Regions from separate parts of the Homo sapiens genome. Here all the other regions are linked to region 3. The links are contacts of gene promoters, found by promoter capture Hi-C in blood cells and fetal thymus (Javierre and others, 2016). All regions are on one chromosome and are shown on one strand. The core of a region is centred on a gene start or on the middle of the fragment in contact, and the rest is flanking DNA. Distances in the headings are between cores, read along the strand shown. Region 1 overlaps SNHG31 (small nucleolar RNA host gene 31). Region 2 overlaps INO80D (INO80 complex subunit D). Region 3 holds the start of KANSL1L (KAT8 regulatory NSL complex subunit 1 like). Region 4 holds the start of MDH1B (malate dehydrogenase 1B). Region 5 holds the start of KLF7 (KLF transcription factor 7).

Evidence for each region. The method cuts DNA at HindIII sites, captures the fragments that hold promoters and counts their contacts. A CHiCAGO score of 5 or more calls a contact.
Region 1: a contact is called between a fragment that was not itself captured here and the fragment with the promoter of KANSL1L in region 3, in 1 of 17 cell types (total B cells). The highest score is 5.1, in total B cells.
Region 2: a contact is called between a fragment that was not itself captured here and the fragment with the promoter of KANSL1L in region 3, in 1 of 17 cell types (neutrophils). The highest score is 7.8, in neutrophils.
Region 4: a contact is called between the fragment with the promoter of MDH1B here and the fragment with the promoter of KANSL1L in region 3, in 7 of 17 cell types (total CD8 T cells, naive B cells, total B cells and 4 more). The highest score is 10.6, in total CD8 T cells.
Region 5: a contact is called between the fragment with the promoter of KLF7 here and the fragment with the promoter of KANSL1L in region 3, in 2 of 17 cell types (fetal thymus and monocytes). The highest score is 7.2, in fetal thymus.

Annotation. Positions count from the first base shown.
Region 1 is chr2:214,813,979-214,816,678 of GRCh38, forward strand. The region is part of intron 1 of SNHG31 (small nucleolar RNA host gene 31); the gene reads left to right. Among named protein-coding and RNA genes, the nearest start is that of SNHG31, 5.1 kb to the left of the region's middle. The HindIII fragment of the contact is 208 bases long and covers 1,267-1,474 here.
Region 2 is chr2:206,080,831-206,083,530 of GRCh38, forward strand. The region is part of intron 1 of INO80D (INO80 complex subunit D); the gene reads right to left. Among named protein-coding and RNA genes, the nearest start is that of INO80D-AS1, 2.5 kb to the right of the region's middle. RefSeq lists enhancers at 1,155-1,944, 2,641-2,700. The HindIII fragment of the contact is 2,066 bases long and covers 364-2,429 here.
Region 3 is chr2:210,169,967-210,172,666 of GRCh38, forward strand. It overlaps KANSL1L (KAT8 regulatory NSL complex subunit 1 like), which reads right to left and starts at 1,443. Exons shown (of 15, transcript NM_152519.4): 1 at 1,183-1,443. RefSeq lists enhancers at 468-1,102, 530-709, 1,103-1,738, 1,739-2,372 and silencers at 900-1,209, 1,330-1,659. The HindIII fragment of the contact is 7,802 bases long and covers 1-2,700 here.
Region 4 is chr2:206,763,968-206,766,667 of GRCh38, forward strand. It overlaps MDH1B (malate dehydrogenase 1B), which reads right to left and starts at 1,361. Exons shown (of 12, transcript NM_001039845.3): 1 at 1,283-1,361. The coding sequence starts at 1,304. It overlaps FASTKD2 (FAST kinase domains 2), which reads left to right and starts at 1,639. Exons shown (of 12, transcript NM_001136193.2): 1 at 1,639-1,780; 2 at 2,677-2,700. RefSeq lists enhancers at 1,140-1,279, 1,530-1,909. The HindIII fragment of the contact is 1,569 bases long and covers 849-2,417 here.
Region 5 is chr2:207,164,694-207,167,393 of GRCh38, forward strand. KLF7 (KLF transcription factor 7) reads right to left here and starts at 1,255. Exons shown (of 4, transcript NM_003709.4): 1 at 774-1,255. The coding sequence starts at 875. It overlaps MIR7845 (microRNA 7845), which reads left to right and starts at 1,707; the gene lies at 1,707-1,805. RefSeq lists enhancers at 1-265, 867-966, 974-1,682, 1,683-2,390, 2,391-2,700 and a silencer at 1,457-2,096. The HindIII fragment of the contact is 8,010 bases long and covers 1-2,628 here.

The sequences.
Region 1 (2,700 bases), core at 121-2,620, 4.6 Mb after region 3:
CAACAATGTGTAAAATCCTGGAATTCTTGTCCCAGAGAAAAAGTTCTGCAGGGAACTCCAGCCATCAGCAGGGTCTCAGTAAAGCCATGGTTTAGGACATGAACAATGTCCTCTTCTTCTCACTTTAAAAAGGGCTAAATGGTATCATTTCTTTTTCAGAGTTTTCCCTGCAAGGACCTCCTGTGTACATAAAAGTTTAGACTTGTTGCTCCATTTCACTCCTAGTCTGTTCTCTTCCTAGTAAGCAGTATTCCCAAGTATCCTAGACTCAAAATCATCCATCCCTCCCCCACTGTAACACTGTAGTCCTGGGTGGATTCTGAGGCATGCAGATAAGCTTGCTTCAGCCTTATTTACCTATCCTCCTCTCTCCAGGCCCACTTAAACCCTCATCCCCCCGACTGCTTCAGTTACCCTCTGTAGTGTTACCATGCTATGAAGGCATCTCCAGCCTTGAATTCTTTTCTGATCTTCAGGCTTATATAATGGTTTGTTGAAAACAGTCAAAATGCTGTTTTCTCTTCTGTTGTGTTATGAAGTGTTTTACAAAGAGGTAAATCTTCCTCATATTCACTTGGATAAACATATATAACAAGCAAAATGGGATATCCATAATACCCAGACTCTACTCCCAAGGAGTGTAAAGATATCTCACAAATTCTTACCTTTATATTAATTCTTCTCTGATTTTTAATTATGGTATTATGCACTGGAAAAGGCCACTTCGACTTCCTGAGAGCATTCTTTTTGTCAGATACAAATTTTGTTTGCAAGCACCCCTCTATGAAGTGTAGTCCCCCCACAAAAAAATGTAGTTTGAAACATTTGATAAGGAGCAATTGAATATGGTAATTGATGGAATAGAGCAGACCATCCCAGCATCTAGGACTGTGGTGTGTGCTGTGCACATTTGACTGAGCTTGCCTTTATATGATGCTATTAAGGTAAAGTCATATGCTTTGTGCTGTTTTTTTTTCTGAAATTCAATGTGGCGTAATGATTAAGTACACGGTGATCTGGAGTCAAGCAGAACTGAATTATAAACCTAGCCTTGACATTTCCTACAATTTTGTCCATTGTGTAACCCATCTTGGAACTTAGTTTCATCTTTTGTAAATTTAGGGTTAATATATGTCAATCTCATACTCAAAGGGTTGTGGTGAGAAAGGAATTACAGTTTATGAAACTGTCCTAAACCAGAAGTGCAGCACAACCAATGGACATCCCTTTGCAATGGACTGTCCTAAACTTTAATATATATATTAAAGCTTAAAACACAATAAGTGCACAACATATTTTTCCATTGTTAGGACTGGCATTGTTGAGTTGCATGAAGCCAGCTACACTGGCTTATGATTTCTCCTATGAAAGAGTACATATTCTAAGCAAAGAACCACTTATTCTGTGGCTATTGGAACAGAGATACTTGCAGTAGCAATTCCTATGCAAATATAATGCAATCACCTGGAAAGGAAGCTTAAATCCTATTTACTGATTATAGTCTCTTTTAGTATCATCTCAGATAAAGTATCCACCTGATTCCTAACACCATCGTTGGCATAATATTAGGACGTGACAATGAAAATGTTTATAATTTTGTTTCATTAACTTAAACATCTTTTATTTACATCATTTTGTTGCTCATTTAAGAACAAAAAAAAGCCTAAGCAATTAAAAACAGTAATTTTGTCCTACGTACTAGAGACAGCATATATGAAGCAAACAAACCACCCATGAATATCATGATTAATGTGTATTTCAATCAGTTCAATTGTGTGTATATGTATTGATCAAGTTATTGGCTGCAGTGTACTGTACTGAACCGTTTTAGCATGCCACAGTCTCTTTGACTAGTACATACCAACTCAGTCCCTATGTCATGTACACCTTGGCATTTAGTTTAGAATTACCCAAGTCTCTAGAAGCATCTAGATATTTTAAGATTGTTTTTGAAAGGATGTTAACTCCATTCTTGTGGGCACCTGCCAAATTTCTGTCACAGGCTTAAAAGTAACTAGTCTAAGGACATAGTTACATTACTATGACCCCACAGTAGTTGTTTTAAAGGTTTTGGTATCTTCTGTACTTCCTGATCATTTATCAAATTCAGTCTGACACACATATTTCACTGGTCATTGTTTTTTGTTCAATAGACTTCAGAGTTCAGCCCATTCCACTGCCTTTTATTGCTTGCTATTTTTAAGGAGACACCTCAGTAGAAATCCTCTTTTTCTGTACAGTGTAATTACTGAAGCACATAAAGTGGTTATAACAGGAATTTATCACTTTCAGGTGGAAATACTCCCAGCCAAATAAAAGATAGAGTAGGAATGCCAGAAGCAATTTATAACAGGCTCACTGACATTTTGTGTTGAGAAGCTCTACCACTGAATAAGCATCAAGTCATAAATCTCTGTAAACGTGATTAAAGCAAGCAAGTTATACTTTGAGGGGATACTATAATAAAAGGATGCTGTGATGCAAAGCAGGAAAATTCTGTTGACAAAAATCACCAAAAACAGCTGTCAGTAAAATTTACAAACAGCTTGTTTTAAATTCTGTTGGATTCTAGCAGCTGTTTGTTTGCACATAAAATGTTCATTTAGGAAATGAGCATTGGCCCTAGTTTGGGTTCCATTGTGTTTCAAAATTCTGTAATCAGTTTAATCAAAATTCATGCAATAATTTAAATTTCATTCA
Region 2 (2,700 bases), core at 147-2,646, 4.1 Mb before region 3:
AGGTGAAGCTTGCAGTGAGCTGAGATCGTGCCACTGCACTCCAGCCTGGGCGACAGAGTGAGACTCAGTCTCAAAAAAAAAAAAAAAAAAAAAAAAAGAATATTAAAAATCTTTAGAAAAAAATAGAAAAGTTATGCACCAGAAAAAGTTATGCACCAAGAAAATATAAAGGTTATGCTTCAGGAACCATTCTAAAGGCTTTATGTTCAATTCCTCATTTAGTCTTCACAGCAACCCTATGAAGTAGGTACTATTATTACCCCCTTTTACAGACGAAGAAAACTGAGACTTAATCAGATTAAGTAATTGTCATTATCCAAGGTCACACAGTCAGGATGCAAGGCCTATTTGCTCCAGAGCCCAAGCTTTTAACCAATACAAAACGACACAACTACCATTACATGGACAATCCTACCCTTACGTTTTTCCTCTTTGTTTCTGCTGTATGCATACACATAAAGAGAAAAAGCACACGAAAGTGTTAAACAGTGGTTATCCTTTGAGTGGGAAAAACAGGTCTACTCTCCAAATATAGCATAAGCCTACTATAGTATGTATAGTACAGTATTACTTTCAGTTATTTAAAAAAGGAAACAAGAGAAATAGTATTTAGATGTTACTACTAGAAAAGTAAGGTGGAGGCCAGGCCTGGTGGCTCACACCTATAATCCCAGCACTTGGAAAGACTGAGGCAGGCGGATCCCTTGCATCCAGGAGTTTGAGACCAGCCTGGGCAACATGGGGAAACCCTGTCTCTACAAAAAATACAAAAATTAGCCAGGCATGGTGGCAAGCACCTGTAGTCCTGGCTGACTACAGGCACACCTGAGGTGGGAGGATCACTGGAGCCCAGGAGGTTGAGGCTGCAGTGAGCTGTAATCATGCCACTGTACTCCAGGCTCGACAACAGAGTGAGACCCTGTCTCAAAAAAAAAAAAAAAGAAAGAAAGAAAGAAAGAAAGAAAAGTAAAGTGGGCTAGTGGAATTAACATTTAATTAATACTATTATGGGCCAAACACATGGCTATCTCATCTAACCCTTATATCAAAGAATTTTATTCCCATTTTAAGTTAAAGAAACCAAAGACTAAATAACTTGCCCAGCGGAAGGACTGGGATCAGAACTCAAAGCCCAGTCTAAAGGTGTCACTGCAGGAAGTCATGCTACAAATAAAATTTCACCAAAAACTCATCTTTTATTTTTTTTGAGATAGAGTTTTGCTCTGGTTGCCCAGGCTGGAATGCAATGGTGCAATCCTGGCTCACTGCAACCTCCGCCTCCCAGGTTCAAGTGATTCTCCTGCCTCAGCCTCCAGAGTAGCTGGGATTACAGGCATACACCACCACGCCTGGCTAATTTTGTATTTTTAGTAGCGACGGGGTTTCTCCATGTTGGTCAGGCTGGTCTCGAACTCCGGACCTCAGGTGATCCGCCCGCCTCAGCCTCCCAAAGTGCTGGGATTACAGGCGTGAGCCACCACGCCCGGCCTAAAAACTCATCTTAAAAACAAATCACATTCTGTGAAAGGATGAGAACCAAGTAGTCTGTCACCTTACGTGCAAGGAGGGAAAAGAGGGAGGCTTAAGGTTTTAAATTGAGTATTTCCTCAGTATCTCAAACTAGCCAGGAGCATTGTCAAAAATCAGCCTTTACAGTCAGGACTTCTGGGACAAACTCTTGCTTGAAGAAGTGAGGAGACTCTATTGCTGTTTGTTTTGCCTAGCACAGAGCTGCATGTGTAAGTTAAACTGACTTAGCACTGGGGACAATTTGCTGCCTCCAACCCAGTCTCACCTATTCAACCATTGTTTTACCAGTTACCAGGTGTGGGGGAGGGGGAAAGAAAAGTGTCTGAGAATATTGCTCTAACTGTATTCAAATATAAATGACTTTTCATTAGCCATAACCATTGTACCAAACCTGGATAGTGAGAGCTGCTAACCCTCAGAGAACATCTCAGGTATGAATAAATAGTTTAGCATTTTTTTGAAATGTCATTAATTTTGGGTGCTCTCAGAAATGTTTAATTCCTTCTAAACTAAAATTTTTATTTCTCTAAAAATAGTAGCAACATGATTTGCTGAGAAAAAGTTGGAATGGGATATACAAATTTCCTCCTAAAAATCTTCCAGAGGAAAGAAAACTTGATTATTTCAGACTTGTAATTATACTAACCATTTACTTTTTAAACTAACACTTAATAATAAAAAAGCATATTCCCTTAGTAGTTTAAAGTTAATTCAGTATTTGCCCTGAAAATCTTTTATTAATTTCAAATGGAATGTAACTTTTAAAAACATCAAACCTGTCATTCCTTCAGGAAATAAAGTAGCCCATTAGGCGATCAGGTTAGGAAATTAATACATGTTTGAGGTAGGGTGGGAAAAAGTACAAAACTTTTTTGGTATTTGTACACATAGTTTTGGAAAGCTTAGGAATGTGAAGTCAACAATATACCTTTAAAATATCAAATTATAAGGCAATAACAATTTTTTTCAAACCTTAAAATGTTCCAAGAAAAATGACTAAGAATGATTTTTTTCCATCCAGTATATGCTCTAAAAATAAGGACAAACTATAATAGAAGTAACGATTTTTGGTACACATGTTTAAAAAAATGTCCATGTCAATAAACAATTTCAATTAATCAATAAACTTAAAACAACCATTAAATGTAATTTGCATTTTTGTATCAGATC
Region 3 (2,700 bases), core at 193-2,692:
ACCATATTATGAAACTTTACAAAAACGAAACAAGTTTGACATCAGAGAGGTGACTAACCCAAAGAAATGGCTAGTTATTAAGAACGGGAAAGGCAGAGACCACTCACTGTTAAGCCTCTTTCTCAATACTGAATTATTTTTAGAGTCATTTTTTCCTAGTCAGAAATTGCCAGTTTTGTCTGCAGTGCTCACTTCACTTAGGTTTTGTGGCTAACAAACCTGCCCCATCCAGCAATATTTAAAATTATTACTGACCCAAACTCAGATGAAGTTAAGCAAACTGGCTAAAGACGAAGGAAGTTTGTCTCCTAAACCTCGCCAGAACATGAATGTCCTGAAGTTTGGGGAATCAAAAACGGAATGTGCTTACCACAGTTCAAACAAAAAAACAAACAAAAACGGACTCTCCCAGAGTAAGAAAACATTACAAGAACGTCCATCCAGTGCCTGCCCTCCCGACTGCAAAGCCAGCCTCTTTCCTTTCCTGTGGTTTCTGAAACGGCCAGGATACCGCCTGGTATTTCTTGCTACCAAACACCACGCAATCTGACTTTTTCCAGCAAGACCGGTCCCTTCCTCAGCACACCGGTGACACAAACTTGGAAGCACCGTCCCTCAAAAATCCCCTAGATTCTGCTCTATCCCATCTAACTCTAAAGCCCAAATCTACGTTTTCCTGAAAGAAAGTGTGAAATAAATAAAATAGGGGTCTCATCAAATCCAGTGGGCTCCGCCTCAGAGCCGCCTCAAAAGAGCCGTCACCACACCCCCAATGGGTGAGGCTCAGCCGATGAGGCAAGAGGCGGGTCCAGGAAACCACGTGTTCTGCCTTCTGCGCACGCGCCAGCCAAAACAAAAGGGAGGTCTGCCAAGCCCCACCCCCCACGTGACCGGCGTCCAGGTCCGCCCCCACCCCTCCCTAGACCCCTTCCCTCCCCAGCTGCCAAGGCTGTTAGGTTTAGCCGTTTAAATTTGGCTGCGGTCAGACCCCCGCCCTAGAGCGCGATCCCGTGCCGAGACCAGAGTCCAGCAGCCCAGAGGATTCGGGGGGCGAAGGGGCTGCCGGTCGGTCGCCTGACCCGCAAGTCCACCCGGCAGTCTTCTCCCCTCCCCGCGCTGCCGCCGTCCCCAAGAGGGAAGACCCACCCCCGTCATCCCGCCGCTGAGACGCCGGCCACTCGCCTGCTGGGGCGCCCTGGCTCCCCTCCGCCGCCGCACCTTCGGTCCGGCCGTGGTGGGGGCTGCTGAGGTGATCTCTAGCTGCCCGCCCGCCTCCCCCACCCGGGGCGCCGCTGACTCGTCTCCAGAGCGCGCCCCGCTCCCGCCCCGGCCGCCGCCGCCGCCGCCGCCGCCGCCGCCGCCGCCGCCGCCGCCGCGGTTTAACAGTCCGCCCGCTGCCCGCAGCTCCGTGCGGCTCGGGGGGACGGAACCCTGCCGCGGTCTGGGAGCAGTGGGCGGGGCCCGGCGCTAGCCAATGGCAACGGGGGAGGGGCAGCGCCATGCAAATGAAGCGGGTGGCGGGGAAACCCCGGCAGGGGGCGGGGCCTGCAGAAGCGGCTCGGAGTGTTCTGGAAGTGGCAGGAGCACGACTCCCTTAACTCTGGTGCAGGGTTTACCTCGGCTCCCTCGGGACGGGTTCCGTGCAGCTCCTGCTTCCTCCCTTCTCTTTCCCAGTGCCATCCCTGGCGAGGGGGAAAAAAAAAAACACGGCCAGGAGACTTCCCACCCCTGCTTTGCTATTTTTGTACCTCCGTGACAGAAAAACAAAACCCTGAGGAAAAGTCAGGCGACTTCATTCCCTGCCGTCCGCGCCGGGGCCTCGACTACTGCTGGCGTCCGCGGCTTTCGCCCGCCGCTCCACAGGCGAGTTTTAAGAGATTTCTCACAATTGTCAAGTCCGCAAGTCTCCGTGCGTTTGCTTTTATTTGGGCCGTGCGTTCAAATGCGCTCATAATTCTTTCTGACCCTCAGAGGGGCCCTGAAGTAGGTGACAAATTTGCCTTGGATCCAACTGGGTGGTTTTATGATTAAAAAAAAAAAAACAGACAAAGCAGTTTTAAGTCTCTACAAATCTGGTTTGAGTGGCGCTGGACCTAACTCCCCTCTGCAGTAACGCTGTCAAATAAACAAACGGAGTTTATGTGGAGATAGTTGGCCAGCGACACCCAAAAACACTTCTGAGCGTCTTGCACCTGGCCCCGCGAACCGCTCACCACAAAACAAACCTGCACCTGGGCACTTCCCCAGCCAAGAACTCGATTTTTTTAAAACTGAACTCTAAATGTAGCTTCTTAGATGTTGTATCACAGTCTTTCCTAAGCACCGAATTTACACATGAAATGATTTAAGGAACGAAGAGCACTAGGCTTTTTAAGCCAGAAGGATAATAGCCATTATTTTAACCTTATCAATTGGATAAGATCCCGGGGGCGGAAGAGGGGAGAAATCCAAGGAATTGCAGTCATAACAAAGCGTAATCCGTAACATAGATAACTGGAATTGGAAAATTAGCTACTCGTTCCTGGTTCTTCTAGTAGATTGTGATATTACTGAAATAATTTTTATGACCAGCTGCATTTATTGGAGCTATATTTTTTTAATTACTGAATAATTGCACCTCGATATGGGGCAAGGGAAGAATTTTAGGAAATTGATTTACTTTCATTGTAATAAAAATTGTAAGCTAATGATGTGTTGTGA
Region 4 (2,700 bases), core at 111-2,610, 3.4 Mb before region 3:
CACTGACTTCCCACCATGTGGTTAGTCAGTGTTCAAAAATATTCTTCTGGGCCAGGTGTGGTGGTGCATGCCTGTAATCTTGGCACTTTGGGAGGTCAAGGTGGGCAAATCACTTGAGCGTAGGAGTTCAAGACCAGCGTGGGCAACATGACAAAACCCCATCTCTACAAAAATACAAAAATTAGCTGGGCATGCTGGTGTATGCCTGTAGTCCCAGCTACTTGGGAGGCTGAGGTGGGAGGATCGCTTGAGCCCAGGAGGTCAAAGCTGCTGTGAGCCACGATTGCACCACTGCAATCCAGCCTGGGTGACAAAGTGAGAGCCTGTCTCAAAAAAAAAAAAAAATCTCCTGTGGATGGTAGATGTCAATTGTGTTCAATGCATCAAAGAGATCAAATAAGTCAAAGACTAAACAGCTTCTATAAAAGTCAGTGGTGACTTTGGTGACAGCAGTTTCTGTCAGGAAGCAGAAGTAGAAGCCTTCTTCCAAGACTGATTGGAAGGCAGAACTGGAGATGGAAGAGCAGTCTACTCTTTTAAGAAACTTTACGAGGAGAGGAGGTAGGTACCATGGATTGTTGTAATAAAAGCCTTCTCAGTTGAGTCCTTGCTGTCAACCAGCACTTTCAATCATTCTCTCCGTTGCTGCCAAGACAGGCTTCCTAAAATGCAAACTCATTAAGACTACTCTCCTGCTTAAAATTTTTCTATAATTCCTCATTGCTTTCAGGATACAGTTCAAACACCTTTGCTTGACCTACATGAAATGCAAGGACCTGGCTCCTGCTCCTGTTGTAGCCCCAGGTCCTGTCACGCCCCACATATCCAGATCTTCTGTTAGGCCAGGAAGCTTCCTGCCTCTCTGCTTTTATTTGGAATAGCCTCCTCAGCTCACACCTTCACAACTCAGCTCCTGTAATACCTTCCCCAGCCAGTTCCTTGTGTCCACCTCTCCCTCATCCCCCAAACCCAGATTAGGAGTCTACGCTCCCAGAGGCCTGTGCAGGTCTCCTTCATCGCGTTAATCACACCGTATCAAAAGTACATGTTCTGTGCCCCATGAGACTGAAAGCTCCTCTAAGGCAGGGATATGTTTCCCTCCATTGCATCCCCAGTGTCCCACAATGCTTGGCGCACCGTCACGGTCCAGTAAAAAACTTTGAATAAATCTATAGCAAAGCATGGAGCGGTCCGTATAGAGGCTGCCAAGCCGAGCGGCCATGGGAGGTGAGCTGTTGTCGGCGTTTTGAGCAATCTGCGGGCGGACGCGGGGATCACTCACCCGCGATGACGAATTTGGCCATGGTCGAGAGAGACTCAGAGGCAGGGACCGCGGCTTCGCGGTTTCCTGGCAACCACGCAGCCAAGGGCAAGGCGCAGGCGCACTACAAAGTCTGGCGCCCAGCAGAGGTTAGGTGTTTAAAGTTAGGACCTGAATGGGTTACGTTGCGATACACGATCAAACATCGCCCTTATAAGCTCTGTGGTATCCCCGAGCCCCACTCCTGTATGCAGGGAAATTAGTCATTCTCCTTGGTAAACTTTCTTCAAGTAAGTCCTTCAGCTACAGCCGCGAACATATGCTTTTTGACCTTTGAGGGAATCCGTAAGATCTCGTGAGAAGCGCAGCTTCTCGGGGAAGCTGTCATGGCTGCTCCTGTACGTAGTCACGGTCTTGTGCTCTAAGGTGAGTGGAGGACGAGCTTGGGCTTAGCGGCAGCCCGTATCACATCCTAGACTTTTTACTTCGAGGAGAAGAGTCTCACGAGTTGTCCTGGAAGTAAGTTTAAAGGAGGTGGGTTAATGCTGGGCGGCCCAGCTGCGGAAGGACAGGCTCTTGAAGTTGGTTCTGGGGTCTGGTGAGGCTGGCTGGTTGTATAAGATCTTCCTCTTAAGCGCAGGCCACGTGCAGACATCGCTTTCGTTTTCTGCTTCTTCCACTGAGCCGTTCTACCTGCCCAGGTCCCTATTCTTGATGGTCTGGGTTCGGCCGTTGCTAAATCGTCATGTTGAAAATGATCTATCAGCCGGGCGCGGTGACTCACGCCTTGGGAGGCCGAGGCGGGTGGATTACCTGAGGTCAGGAGTTCAGGACCAGCCTGGCCAACATGGTGAAACTCCGTCTTTACAAAAAATACAAAAATTAGCCGGGCGTGGTGGCATACGCCTGTAATCCCAGCTACTTGGGAGGCTGAGACAGGAGAATTGCTTGAACCTGGGAGGTGGAGGTTGCAGTGAGCCAAGATCGCGCCACTGCACTCTAGCCTGGGGGACATAGCAAGACTTTGTCTCAAAAAAAAAAAAAAAAAAAAAAAAAACAGAGAAGAGAAAAGAAAATGATCTATCAATGCTAATCCCCTAATTTTCACCGAGGACATTTCCATAACAATGCCAACAAAAGTCTCTCCTACAGAGAAAGCTTTATGGAACGCTTTTGCACCAGAAAAATCTCATTAATACAATGACTACTTCCAAAGTGACCTGGCTTCTTTGAAACTGGACACATTGTGGTAGATTGGAGGGAGCCCACATTGGTAAAAAAAACTTTTACTGTTTTATGTAAATGTTTAATGGCTCCATAGGTTCCCCATTTTCTCTTCTGTTAAATGCATTTCATTTCTTTAAGTAAAAGTTTTGTTTTAATTTTTATTCTTTTCATTACTTCTTCCCCTACAGGAAAACGACAGCACGTGTTCTTTT
Region 5 (2,700 bases), core at 5-2,504, 3.0 Mb before region 3:
AAAGTCAAAGGCATGGAAGCACACATCAGCCTTTGTCCGAGGTTGTGCTGCCTAACTAGAGAAGGACCCTAAACAAAAAAGAGAAACAAGGACACGCATAGAGGGTGTTCTCTTTCTGGAGGGATCACACTGGGAAAACCTACAATTCATTGTCAGCCTCAGCTACATCTTCCCGTCCTCCTTGAGTATCTTTTGTCAGTGGGCTCTTCTCTCTTTTGCCTACCTTCTAATCTCAAAATCAAGCTCCTATTCTTTATTGACACTCGCTAATTACTGAAAAACACTCCGCTTTGCTCCTGCCCACCCTCCCCCGCCCCCCATCCGATGGTCATAAGCACCAGTTGAAACAGATGAACCTGATTTCAGGTATCAAGTGGGTAGAGCTCATGCATGCGAGAACGTGGTCCCTGTCAGCAATCGCTCCTAACACCCCAAACCACCTTCCCACCCGGCTCCTCCGAACCCCAGAAGTTCGGCAGGTCTCTGATAGGGGACAGCAAACCCGACAACGTGTGCGCAGGGATGTGTGTTGGCGACTGAAACGCAGGCAGCTCGCACCGGCTGCTCAGCTCGGCACTCTACGAGGTTAGGGGTGGGTGGAGAGGTAAGCGCAGATGACTGTTTCAGAAAACATTTTCAACAACAGACAGCCAAAAAGGAAGAAAAAAAAGTCAAACAAACAAACAAAAATTTCAACCCAGAGCCCACACCAACGCAGCCCCTGCGTCTCCGCCGCCACCACACGATTTACACAAGTAATTTAAATCATTCACCTGCTGCCAGGTCTCCTCCAGGGATGGTAAAGCTGAGAAGTAGCCGGTGTCGTGGACAAGTTGTAGCTCCTGGAATATACTATAACTAGCCAACACGTCCATGCTGCTGCTGCCGGGCAAAACGGGAGGCGAAACCCTCCCCCGAACACAGTTGGGGCTGTTTGTTTGTCAGTCTGTCTGGCTCACCCCCCAAGAAGGCAGACATCCAGTGGCCCTTTTGTTTTGTTTTGTTTCAGTCAACTAAAAAGGAAAAAAAAAAATCAATGCAGGAGAGGGAGAGAGGAGGTGAGAGAGGAGCGAGTGAGTGGGGTGGATGGAGAGAGGCATCCAGCGTGTACAGTGCAGACGACTGCCAGGAAAAGGGGACTTCTCCACGGGAGTAACAATTCCCTTCCAGGGCTCTAATCACTCCAGCTCGTGGATCAGGAAGGGGGATGCAAACTCACTGACACGAAGCTGCCATCTATTTCTGCAGCGCTGTTCGCTCCTAATGCAATCTTTGCTCTTTATTTTGGGAGGTTGCATTTTTTTCTCTCGCGATCGCTTCTCTTCCCCCCCCTTCCCTTCCCTCCCCACCCCCCACCCCATCCTTGCTAGTTTGTAGTCTTCCCCCTCCCTTTTCTCCTCCTCCTGCTCTTCCCCCTCCCCAAACTCCCTCCCTCCGTTCGGTTCTCCGCGCAGCCGTGGGATCTCGAGGAGGGCGTCCATTAGGCCGCGTGTGACCATGTAAGGTAAACAGGGGGCTCATGAAGTCACTGAGGACCAATGGGGAGCCCGGAGCAGAGCCTGGGGCGGGGCTTGGCCCTGGCGGCGGGCGCGGATTGGCACGCTGCGGATCTCCCTGCTGCCTTACAAGGCGGTGCGAGGCGAGCTATTTTTAGAGGGCTATATAAGGGGGCTGAGGCGGCCGCCCGGCGGCCGGGCAGCGCGAGCGCAAGGGACAGGGAGGGTCGTGGCGACACTCGCGCCAGCTCCCGGGACGGCTGGGCTCGGGCTGGTCGCCGACCTCCGACCCTCCACTAGATGCCTGGCAGAGCCCGGCGCGTCCGGAGCCCGCGCCCCTCAGAGGGAAGGGGTCGCGCGTCGCCGCGGCGGCCCTGAGGCTGACGGTCGGGAGGTGAAAGGCCGGAGTGCGGGGTCAGGACGCCTCCTGGAGGGGGCGCGGCGCAGGGGGCCGCGGGGAAGCCGCCGAGGGCGCGGAGCGGGAAGGAAGGACAGTGGCCACCCCGCCTCCGCCTGGGCACGGGGCAGGGACCCGCGCGAGGCGGTGCCGGGGAGGTCCTCACGTACTCAAAAACAAGCAGAAAAGGCATCCAGGGCCCCTTCCCGAACTCCCCACGGGCTGCCAGGGTGCAGAGAAGAAGCGCCTGAGGAGGAAGTGCCACACAATGGGAGAGAACAAAGGGGAGCGGAGCGAGACCGCGGCCTGCGCCCGCCCCCCGCTTGCGCACAGTCCCCGCCCCGCCCCGCGGGCGCCGCCGCCGCCGCCCTCCCTCCCGCGCCTCCTTCTGACCCCGAGCGAGAGACCTGGTCGGGAGTCCGGCGGCTAGAGTTGATTGCAAGGGGCCTGTTGCTCGACTGTGCGTTAAAGAGGCTAGAGGGAGCCTAGGTAGACGTGGGGCGCAAGCTGGAGCCGGCAGCTTGCGAGGGGGCCTTTACGTGATGAGGCTCACCATGGGGTCTCCAGCGAGGTGTCTGCAGAGCTTCGATGGTGAGAGGAGGAACTCGATTTCTCGTTTTCTGGAGTTGGGATGTAGACATAGAGAGATCTGTTACATCTGAGATGAAAACCCTGCACAATTCACGTTAGGGTTGGCCAATTGTTTGCTTGACCTTAAATGGTTAGTGTGGTTTAAGCTTCCCCAAAATGCGCTGTGAGCTGAGCTTCCACTTTTGGAATGATTGCAGAATTCGGTGCTTAAGAGAT